Linked DNA regions of Homo sapiens: region 1 is linked to region 2. Evidence: promoter capture Hi-C in 16 types of primary human blood cells and fetal thymus (Javierre and others, 2016). All regions are on one chromosome and are shown on one strand. Each heading gives the region's core, a stretch centred on a gene start or on the middle of the fragment in contact. The rest is flanking DNA. Distances are from core to core; before and after follow the strand shown. Region 1 holds the start of PDE7B-AS1 (PDE7B antisense RNA 1). Region 2 holds the start of ALDH8A1 (aldehyde dehydrogenase 8 family member A1).

Region 1 (5,280 bases), core at 99-2,598, 1.1 Mb before region 2:
TGCAACATCCACCTCCTGGGTTCAAATGATTCTTTTACCTCAGGTAATTCTTTTACCCAAGTAGCTGGGATTACAGGTGTGTGCCACCGTGCCCAGTTCATTTTTTTGTATTTTTAGTACAGACAGGGTTTCACCATGTTGGCCAGGCTGGCCAAATTCCTTTTTGTCATAGGAACGAGATAGGCATAAATTCTCCACGAAGGAATTATTTCTATTGGAAAGAATATGGGAACTAAATTTTTTTATTTGCTTCAGATATGGGACTTTTGGTGAAATTTCAGTTTTCTGCGCATTGTACTTTCACAACAAGTTTTTAGAAATCACGCTGAAATTCTCAACTGAGAGATACGTATCATGATCAACCTTTGCCACTTATACTCTGATACATGTGGTGGTGTATTTCCAGATTTTTACTATGTGTGGCTGTAAAAATGCTGTTATGGGCTAGAGTGTGTCCCCTGCCAAATTCGTATGTTAAAATCCTAACCCAAGCACCTCAGAATGTGACCTATATGGAGATGGGGTCTTTTAAAAGGCAGTTAAGTTAGATGAGGCCACTGGAGTAGGCCCTAATCCATTATGACTAGTGCACTTGTATGAAGAGAAAATTAGGACACAGGCCCAGAGGGAAGACCATAGAAGTGACATCTACAAGCCGAGGGGAGAGGCCTCAGAAGAAACCAACTCCACAGATGCCTTGATCCTGGACTTTCAGCCTGTAAGACTGTGAGAAAATCAGTTTCTGTTGTTTAAGCCATTGAGTTTATGGTGCTGTGTTATGACAGCCTTAGCTGATTAAGACATATGCCCGTAATTTTATGACTCAGTAAAGAAAATATTCACTTTTACTTAATTAACCCAATCATGTTCTTTACACACAAAGAAGGAGTCTTTCAGATCTGTTACCCCAGGACCTGTCACAATGCATGGCGTACGGAGGCACTCTGTGCACACGTTGAGTTTATGGACTGTCCCTGAATGTCATTCAGATGGAGGACTTTGCTTGTGGCCCTAGTTGTGTGATATGAACAGACTTCAGCATGGCCATCCCTGCCGACGCCACCATCTCAGATATTCCATCAATGCTCCTTAGCCCCGAGAGCAGGCCAAAAAGACAAAGAACATGGTCTCCAAGCGGCCCAGCCCCAAGCAACACAACTCCCTGGGGTTTCTCCAAAAAGAGAAGGGTGCGTTGAGTGGCTCTTAGCTGTTCCTACCAGGATATACAGGTGAGCCAAGAAAAACCACATGGCTAGCTTTATCAGGAGCTGCTGACAGGCCTGAAAGATCCAAAACGGACACCTGACCCATGTGACTGTTGTCAGAACACTATCCACCATGGCAACCAGGCCAGTTTCCATCGCACATGTGTCCCGCAGCTCCACCGAAAAGGATCAAGAAAGTCAGGATTCTAAATACCAACAGCATCACTCTGTCAAAACCACCCTTGCAACCTTTCTCAGAAAAGGAAATGTAATGACAAGATGAAAGTTAGCCAGAACGGCCATGTCCAGAAAAGCTCTCAGTAGTACAGCCATCTGTCCGAAATACTCTAACCTACAAGGTGGCCACGGTCTCTTCAGAGGGTCATGGAGCTCTGCAAAGCTTGTCTTAAAACTGATTAAGGTAAAATAGTTATTAGAAGACATCTTTTTCTTTCTTAAGATCAATAGAAAAATAAACAGGGCTGGGCAAGGTGGCTTACACCCAGAATCCCAGCACTTTAGTAGGCCAGGGCAGGAGGATCGCTTGAGCCCAGGAGTTCAAGAGCAGCCTGGGCAACACAGCAAGAACTCATCTCTACTTAAAAAACAAAATTAAAGTATCAGCTATGCCATGAGCTATCTAACCAGGTGCCCCTCTCCCACCATTTCCTCTCCCTGTACCCTGTTTAGGTCCTTCACAGAACTTAGGACAATTTCGATTTGTCTTTCTCTCTCCTCGCCTCCCCGCCTATTTATTTTCTGTTTTCCCCATTAAGGGCAGGAACTGTGTTTATTGTATTTGCCATTATATATTCAAGACAAATTATGATGCCTGCTACATAATAAATGCTCAATAAATATTTGTAGAATGACTGACTGAATGAAAAAAATGTTAAAGGGGACTGAGGGAAGAAGCTAAAATATATTTAGTTTTTGTGCTGTGTACCTTTTAAGGCACTGTTGTAGGGTCACCTCATTTAATTCTTAAAACATAATAGATGCTTAATAAATATTTTTAGAATGACTAACTGAAGGAAAAAAATGTTAATGGAAACCAAGGAAAAAAGCTAAAATACATTTACTTGTTACTGCACTGTGTACCTTGTTAGGCATTGTTATATGATCATGTCATTTAATCCTTAAAACATTAGAATGCTGCACTCATTTATTAATTTATTGAGTGGAATCTTGCTCAGTTGCCCAGGCTGGAGTGCAGTGGTGTGATCATAGCTCAGTGAAGCCTCGAACTTTTGGCCTCAAGCGATCCTCCCACCTTAGCCTCCCTAGTAGCTGGGACTACAGGCATGCACCACTACACTTGGCTAGAGTGATATAATTTTAACATAATTTTTCCAGTAAGAAAACTGACATCCAGAGAAGTTTATAATTTCTTGGTGTTTCTGTAATGGTGAAATGAACTATCTCTCTGTTGCCTTTCTAGCACTTTGAAAATAAAATTCTCAATACTTCAGAATTAAACTTATGTATACACACGTGTGTGTGTGTTTCCAGTTTACTTTTCCTCTTGTCCAACCTTTCTGATATGTTAGTGATTCTGAACTTTGTGCAATGCTGAGGTGAAGGCTGAGGTTGGCTACAGAGACGATGGCAGCTGAGCTACAAGGCAGTCTCTGTAATTTTGTTTTCACTGGTTATTTTCAATATATTTATTAGGTTGTTAAACTGAACCATCTTGACTGGCCCCAGCCAAGTTTCTTACAGTGGAAATGGCACATTAACTATGCAGCTGTCATGAGAGAAGTCAGTACTCTTAGGTGAGTGCCTGTAACTGAAATACAGATGGGCAAGTCAAGAGTGGGTCGAAGGTTCAACATGCTCTTTTCCAAACCTCTCTGGTTTGGAAATCTAACTCGAAACCTCCTGGAGTCAAGGCTTCTGATGAGATTCCTGGAGCTTCTTGGTCCAGGCGTGGGTTTGGAATACTTGGGAAAGGGCCGACCACAGGGATCTCAGGGCTCCTCATGCTGGCTCTGTTTGGAAGTGTTGAGCTGCATGAAAAGTAGGGCACTTGATGGGGTGGTGGAGATTTTTCAAAACCTCAACAGGAATTTCAATTGTTCATTTGGACAAGAGTTTGGGTTTGGTTCCTACGTAAGCCCAAGTAGTTTGTTTTATACTGACTTTAGATTTTTTTGATTCAAATCTTTGCTGTTATTATCACGTAAGAAAATCAATCTATTATGGTATTTTAGTTTGGTCATAATAAAAAAGTCAATATGTTGCAAATTATTAACAATACATTTAAAGAATGCCATTCTAAATGAGAGTGTGTTTTCTAGTATCTTAACGTATTAAAAAATTTTCAATGTTTTTTAAATTAAATGAATTAAATCATGAAAGAAGGACTAAAATGCTATTCTATCTGGATCAATGCCATTAACTAACCTTTTAAAATAAAAAAAGCAGATTAGAGAACACTTAATATTTTTTCAACAATATTGTTATTCATGAGACTTGATTATGCTAATATTATTTGAGAATGACATATTATAGTCATATAAAATGTGAAAAATATAGGCCTGAAAGCAAATTGGATGGGTATTTATAAAGATTAATAAATATTCTAACTGGATATCATTGTGAAATTATAAATAATTTGCCTTAATATCATTGACAGATTCTAACCCAAAAGAATTCAAATATATTGGATTTCCTCTCCTGTTCAATTGGAATTCAAGGACTTAATCCACTTTTAATTACACTGTTCCTGTTGTTGCATCAAAAGGTATGTTTATCAACTGGTTTTGAGTTTAAGTAGCTGTTTCTTAAAATTCATTTTAAATCTTCTGTTTTTTTTTTTTTATATAGGCTTTCATACTTTAAGATACAGTGCAGCTGAATACAGTTGAATATAGTTGAGTTGAGCTATTCAACTGATCAGTTCCCTGCAACTTAATATGTATGCTGAGAAAGAGTTGACTCTTGGGGGAATTTCTAATTTTTTGATATTTATCAGTTTAATATACTTAAAGTTTTGGGGTCTTTTGTGCTCATTTGAATTCAGATTTCTGTTTGCATAACACTTTAATGATGACTCGGATTAGAGATAGTTTCATTGATCAATAGACAGAAAAAGAGATTTGCCATCTTTTAAACTGATTCTTTAAGCACTTCATTTACCATTCTGAATTTTTTAACATTAATTTTTGTGATATTTTTACCAAGGCAATTCATCTCTGCTCTATTTTCTGATGAAGATATTGTGATTTTAACAGTAATTTAAAACAAACAAAAATTGAAGATAATTTTTCACACTTTATAACTGTATATTATAGAACTAAGTGTTTAAAAAAGCTGAAAATGACTCATTTAAAAGACCTAGTTTGTTTTAATTGGCTAGATATTAATTTCAAAAATTTAAAATAGGCAATAACTGTATTCTTGAATGCCTTAAAAACTCTGCACATTTATATAATCAAATGCTTTTTAAAGAATATTAGCCTTGCTTTTCTGAGACAGTTTTGAACTGTACAATTTCAAGGACTGAATTGAAGGGGAAACCATTAGGACTTGTTGATGGAGGATGCATTCACTACTGATTATTTTCTAATTCCTCCATGGATTTGATCAGTGTAGCCTCACATGTACATATTTACTTATGCACGTGCTTGTGAATGGTTTAAAGATGATTCACTGCATGCTGAGAGTGTTTTCTCCTCATGATTTGTCCCCGCTTGCTTACTGCTTCCAGCTCCTCAGCCTTTAAAGCAAAAGCACATTTTAAAGTTATTTCAAAATTATTTCTTTCTCCTTTGCTATGGGCAGTGTAAACCCTAAATAAAATTCTAAGCCCCCCAACCAACTGAATTGATCCCTCCTCTGGGCCAAGGGCATTCTAACGTAAACCTGAAACACTAGTTCAGGCTATGAGGGGAAGGGGTGGTTGGACATGCCTCATTATACCTTCCTCCCTTAGGAATTCAGGCACAGGTGACCAGCACTGACATTAAAACAGAGACCTTAAGACTGACAAAACAGATGCTTTGTCGCAATAAGATACTAACATGAGATAGCAGGCCCTGAAAGAAATCGAAGTATTTTACCCCAAAACAGA
Region 2 (5,454 bases), core at 108-2,607:
TCATAATTATAAAAGTAATATAGGCTTGCCATAAAATATCCAAGCAGTTTAAAACGGCTTCCTGTCAACCATGTAAATAGCCAAAGAAACTATGCTGTATATATTATTCACTAGTTTTATTTTTTCACTTAACAATGCATCCTTCTAATGTCTAAGTAGTATTCCCTGTTAAGAATATAACAATTATACTCTAATATTCTCCAATTGATGGACTTTAGGTTGTTTTGATTTTTAAATTATGATAAAAAAGGATGTCCTGTGACTTATGTACTTGTTCATGAGCACGTAATTCTGTAGGAGAGATTCCTAGAAGAGAAATTGACCAGACCCTGACAAATTGCCCCAAGCAGTGTTCTGTGAACCCTCCCGCCTATGGACTAGGGATGATTCTCCACATCCTCACAGAGTAGATGTTCTCAATCTTTAAAAATGCTCTCCAGTATGATTGGCAAATCAGGCCACCTCTGTATTTCACATTCCTTGCTTAACAACAAGGCTGAACATTGTTAATATATTCATTAGCCAATTGTGTTCCTTTTCCTATGGATTGCTTTTTTGTATCTTTGCTTATCTTTTCTGTTGGGGTGCTCATTTCTCTTACCAATTTGTAGAAATTCTCAGCTACATCAGGGATCTGAAGCCCTTGCTATATGTGTCACACATGTTTTTGGCTTGTCTTTATCTCCATGGCACATCTAGGAAGATGTGAGCAGCCACTGTGGCCCCGGTTTTGGGATGGAGAGACAGCTCTTCCAAGAGAGGGCAGCCAAGGTAAAGAAACACAGATGAGCCACGGAAAGAGGGCATCTGTCTTCAGTTACCTCTGCAGGGTAAGCAGTGATGCATTGAGGAAAAAGTATATGATTTGGAGATTAAAGGGCTACAGTTCATCCCCTGCTAACTATGTGACCTTGGAAAAATGGTCTAACCTCTCCAAGGCTCAGTTTCTTCTATAAAAGAGAGGAAGTAATGGTTACTTCATATAGGATTGTTGTGTGGAATAAACGAGTAAATTCATGTAAAGGACTTGCTTTGGGGCCTGGCATCCAATCAGTGTTTGAGCAATGAACAGTTTACGGTGTGAACCCAATAAAATCACATGCACAGATGCCTTCTGATGATTTAAAGGGCTATGAACACATAAGTAAGTAGCTGTTACTTTTACACACAATTATCCATGTCAGGTAATGTACTAGAAGTCTGTGAAACATTCAGCCACTCTCTTAGTTCTGAGTTTGGAGACTGGAATGCTCTCTGAGAGCGTCAGGTGCCCTCCCACATTCACTGATTGGTAAAGGGGAAGATGGGGGCTGGGAAGGGGGAGGCTCACTCAGGAGTCCAGACAGTGGTGGGGACAACCTGAGTGCTCAGTCGTAAAGAGGAAAGGCAGAATTTTTCCTTGCTATGGCTGGAACAAACGCACTTTTGATGCTGGAAAACTTCATAGATGGAAAATTTTTACCTTGTAGCTCATATATAGATTCTTACGACCCATCAACAGGGGAAGTGTATTGCAGAGTGCCAAATAGTGGAAAAGACGAGGTGAGTATATGCACTTAAAGAAGACTGAAATGTGTTTAATATGTTGGCCAATTATGGGTAACAGTTTTCTAAAAGCAGAGGGAGTTGGGGGAAGATGTAGGATTGTTAAACATGATAGAAGGAAGATTCTAGTTCTCAGAAGATGTACCTTGTAACTGGACTGTATGATACCTAGAACAAATCTCTTCCTATATGCAGAAAGTAAGTCATTTTTCTAGCCAACCTAACACAGCCCTGTGTGCAGTTTTTTTTTGCAATTCTCAAACATTTCCTAATCAGTGTCTAGTACAAAGTATTATTTGTAAGAGCTATCACTTTGTTAAATATTCCCTTTTCTCCACCACGCACTGCTTAAATTTACCACTATATCCATGGAATTAAAAAAAAAGTATAGCTTTACTAAAATAAACAAACAAGCAAAAAACTGTGGGCTTTGTTTTAGATTGTCTTCTCATAATTTGTCATGTCTTCAAAATACCTAGTAAAATAAAATCAATCATTTGAATGATGAAACTCAAAATCAAATTCCCATATATTTTTGGAGTTAGATTTAACAGCGTCTTTTTTCTTATCCAAAGTGTTTAATGGCATATGCATTACATTTTTTTGGTGATGTAGAATTAATTTTACTTGGAGAATTTTGTAAAATATTTGAGATATATTTGATTAGCTATCAATTATTGCACTGAGAATGTAAATATATCTGAAGTGGTAAATGTAGCTGATGTATATATAGTCATCTAATGCCTTATGAATTATAATTTATTCTTTTTAAGGCACAAATAACTAGATTATTTAAAATATAGTCTTCCTATAAAAATATATATTCCATGCAAAGTTTTTTTTTAAGAACATTGCTATTTTTTTTCTTTTTTGTTAATACTTCAAATCTGTCTTGCATTTAAAGTAAACCTTCAGACTTAGGGATTAATGTTTGCAAATGTTGGTTAATGCATTGGTTAAATTATAAACTGCAATTTTGTTTGCTTCAAATGACTTAACACAGCTCTGGGAAATCCAGCTTTGTGTTTTCCACTCTTCCTTGTTTGCCAAAGTGAAGTTAAAAATGACAAACATGCCAAATTCAGCTGAAATATTTCCTGCAGCTAATGGCTCATAACTTTTTAGAAAATAGAATGAGCTATGGATGCGCTAGCTAGTAGAGTAATAGATATGTTCAGTTTCTCAGCAATCCAACTTCCAAATATCCTATCTGATCCCATAAGTCATAGTTTTTTCCGGCTTGAAAAATATGGTTACCATACAAACTGCATGTCCAATTTCCAAAACATCACTCAGGAAAATGTTGCTGGTGCTGCTAACAGTGGCTCCCGTTTATTCAACTTTTGCTTTGTGCTTTGCAGTCATTAAGCCCTTTTTTAACAAAAAATTAAAAAATTGATACATAATAATTGTACATCTTTATGGGCATATGTGACATTTTGATACATGCATACAATGTGTCATGATCAAATCAGGGTAATTAGGATCTCCATCACATTAAACATTTATCATTTCTTGGTGTTGGGAACATTCCAAATCTTTTCTTCTAACTATTGTGAAATATACAATAAATTATTGTTAACTATTGTCACTCTACTAGAACTTATTCCTTTTAACCATATTTTTGTATTAATTAGCCAACCTCTATCCTCTCCTCTACCCTTCCCAGCCTCTGGTAACCATAATTGTACTCTCTACCTCCATGAGATCAACTTTTTTAAGCTTCCACATATGAGTGAGAACATGTAATATTTGTATTTTTGTGCCTTGCTTACTTCACTTAACGTAATATCCTCCAGCTCAAATCGTGTTGGTGCAAATGACAGGATTTTGTTCCTTTTTATGGCTGAATAATATTCCATTGTGTATATATACCATATTTTCTTTATCCATTCAGCTGTTGATGGACATTAGGTTGAGTCCATATCTTGACTATTGTAAATAGTGCTTCAACAAATATGGGGGTACAGGTATCTCTTCAGTATACTGATTTCCTTTTCTTTGGATAAATTTCCAGTAGTGGGATTGCTGGATCATACTGTTGTTCTATTTTTATTTTTTTTTTTTTGAGAAACCTACATGCGTTTTCCATAATGGCTGCACTAATTTACTTTCCCACCAACACTGTATTTGTCTTCCCTTTTTTTTTGCAGCTTCACCAGCCTTTTTTATTTCTTATTTTTTGATAATGACCATTTTAACTGGGATGAGATAATAACTCGTTGTGGTTTTGACTTGCATTTCCCTAATAATTAGTGATGTTAAGCATTTTTTATATACCTGTTGGCCATTTGTACATCTTCTTTTTGTGGAATATCTCTTTAGATCATTTGCCCGTTTTTAAATTGGATTTTTTGGGCGGTGGCTATTGAGTTGTATATGTATATATACAAGCTCAAGCTCCTTATATATTCTGGTTATTAATCCCTTGTCAGATGGATAGTTTGCAAATATTTTCTCCCATTCTGTAGGTTGCCTCTTAACTCTGCTGTTTCTTCTGTTGTGCAGAAGCTTTTTAGCTTGATATTATTTTATTTTGTTTATTTATTTTCTTTTGTTGCCTGTGCTTTTGAGGTCTTGCCCAAAAAAATCTTTGCCCAAATCAGTGTCATGAAGTATTTACCCTATGTTTTCTTATAGTAGTTTCATAGTTTTGGGTCTTACATCTATCTAAGTCTTTAATCTGTTTTGATTTGTTTTGGTGAGAGATAGGGGTCTAGTTTCATTCTTCTGCATATGGTTATCCAGTTTTCCCAGCACCATTTATTGGAGAGACTATGTTTTCACCAATGCATATTTTTGGCAGCTTTGTAAAAAACGAGTTGGCTGTAAATGCATGGATTTATTTCTGGATTCTCTATTCTGTTTCACTGGTCTATGTGTCTGTTTTTACACCAGTGCCATGCTACTTTGGTTACTATAGCTTTGTAGTATATTTTAAAGTCTGGTAGTGTGCAATCAGTAAGCCCTTTAATATAGATTATCCAAAGAAGCGAGTTGTAACAACTTAGAAGTCTCTATTATGATCCTTATTTTACAGAGGACAGTACTAACACTCTCATCTCTGATGCTTAGATCCATGGGCATGTGCACCTGTGCGTGCACGCACACATGCGCACCTGTGCGCGCGCGCACACATGCGCACCTGTGTGCATAGCACATTTGCATTATAGCATTGCAGTTATAAGCACATACTAGAGTCAGACTGCCTGGTTCAAATACAAGCTGCACCACTTGGTATCTATGGCTTTGACTTAGAGCTGAACTTTTGCATGCCTCAGTCTCCTCATCTATAAAATGAGGATAATAATGATATCTACTTTATAGTGTTATTCTGAGGATTAAACTGACTAATATGCTTAAAGCCCTTAGTGCTTGGCATATAGTAAATGCTTTCTATGTATTAACTTATGCTAATATTATTGTATGTAGTACATTAATATGTATTCTATATTACATGGACATAAGTTGTGCTATAAGGCAACTTAGAAAATATGAGTGGACTTGAATTTTCTGAATAGCAAAAAGACCAGATTTTTACATTGACTGTAGGAATTCATGCTCCTCTTGCTGGCTGGCAGTGGGGCTTCCTCATGGCTGCAGCTGGTGGTGGAGGTCACCAAAGCCATCTCTTCCCCTATCCTGTCTGCAGGTCCACATTCAAGATTTAGTTTTTGAGGTGAAGCCACCATATTTCTAGAAATTTCTAATTAAGATGAGAATCATTTTATACCTTACTTCAGCTCAGCTAAAAGTGACTGTATTAGTTCGTTCTAACACTGCTATAAAGATAATACCTGAGACTGGGTAATTTATTAAGGAAAGAGGTTTAATTGACTCAGTCCTGCATGGCTGGGGAGGCCTCAGGAAACTTACAATCATGGCTGAAGAGGAAGCAGGCATGTCTGG

The links. The method cuts DNA at HindIII sites, captures the fragments that hold promoters and counts their contacts. A CHiCAGO score of 5 or more calls a contact.
Region 1: the fragment with the promoter of PDE7B-AS1 here is called in contact with the fragment with the promoter of ALDH8A1 in region 2 in 2 of 17 cell types (naive CD8 T cells and total CD4 T cells); the score reaches 6.3 in naive CD8 T cells.

What each region holds. Positions count from the first base shown.
Region 1 is chr6:136,068,895-136,074,174 of GRCh38, reverse strand. It overlaps PDE7B-AS1 (PDE7B antisense RNA 1), which reads left to right and starts at 1,348. Exons shown (of 4, transcript NR_149042.1): 1 at 1,348-1,626; 2 at 2,880-2,980; 3 at 3,844-3,951. The region is part of intron 2 of PDE7B (phosphodiesterase 7B); the gene reads right to left. The HindIII fragment of the contact is 8,353 bases long and covers 1-1,607 here.
Region 2 is chr6:134,946,004-134,951,457 of GRCh38, reverse strand. It overlaps ALDH8A1 (aldehyde dehydrogenase 8 family member A1), which reads left to right and starts at 1,357. Exons shown (of 7, transcript NM_022568.4): 1 at 1,357-1,542. The coding sequence starts at 1,405. The HindIII fragment of the contact is 9,755 bases long and covers 1-3,269 here.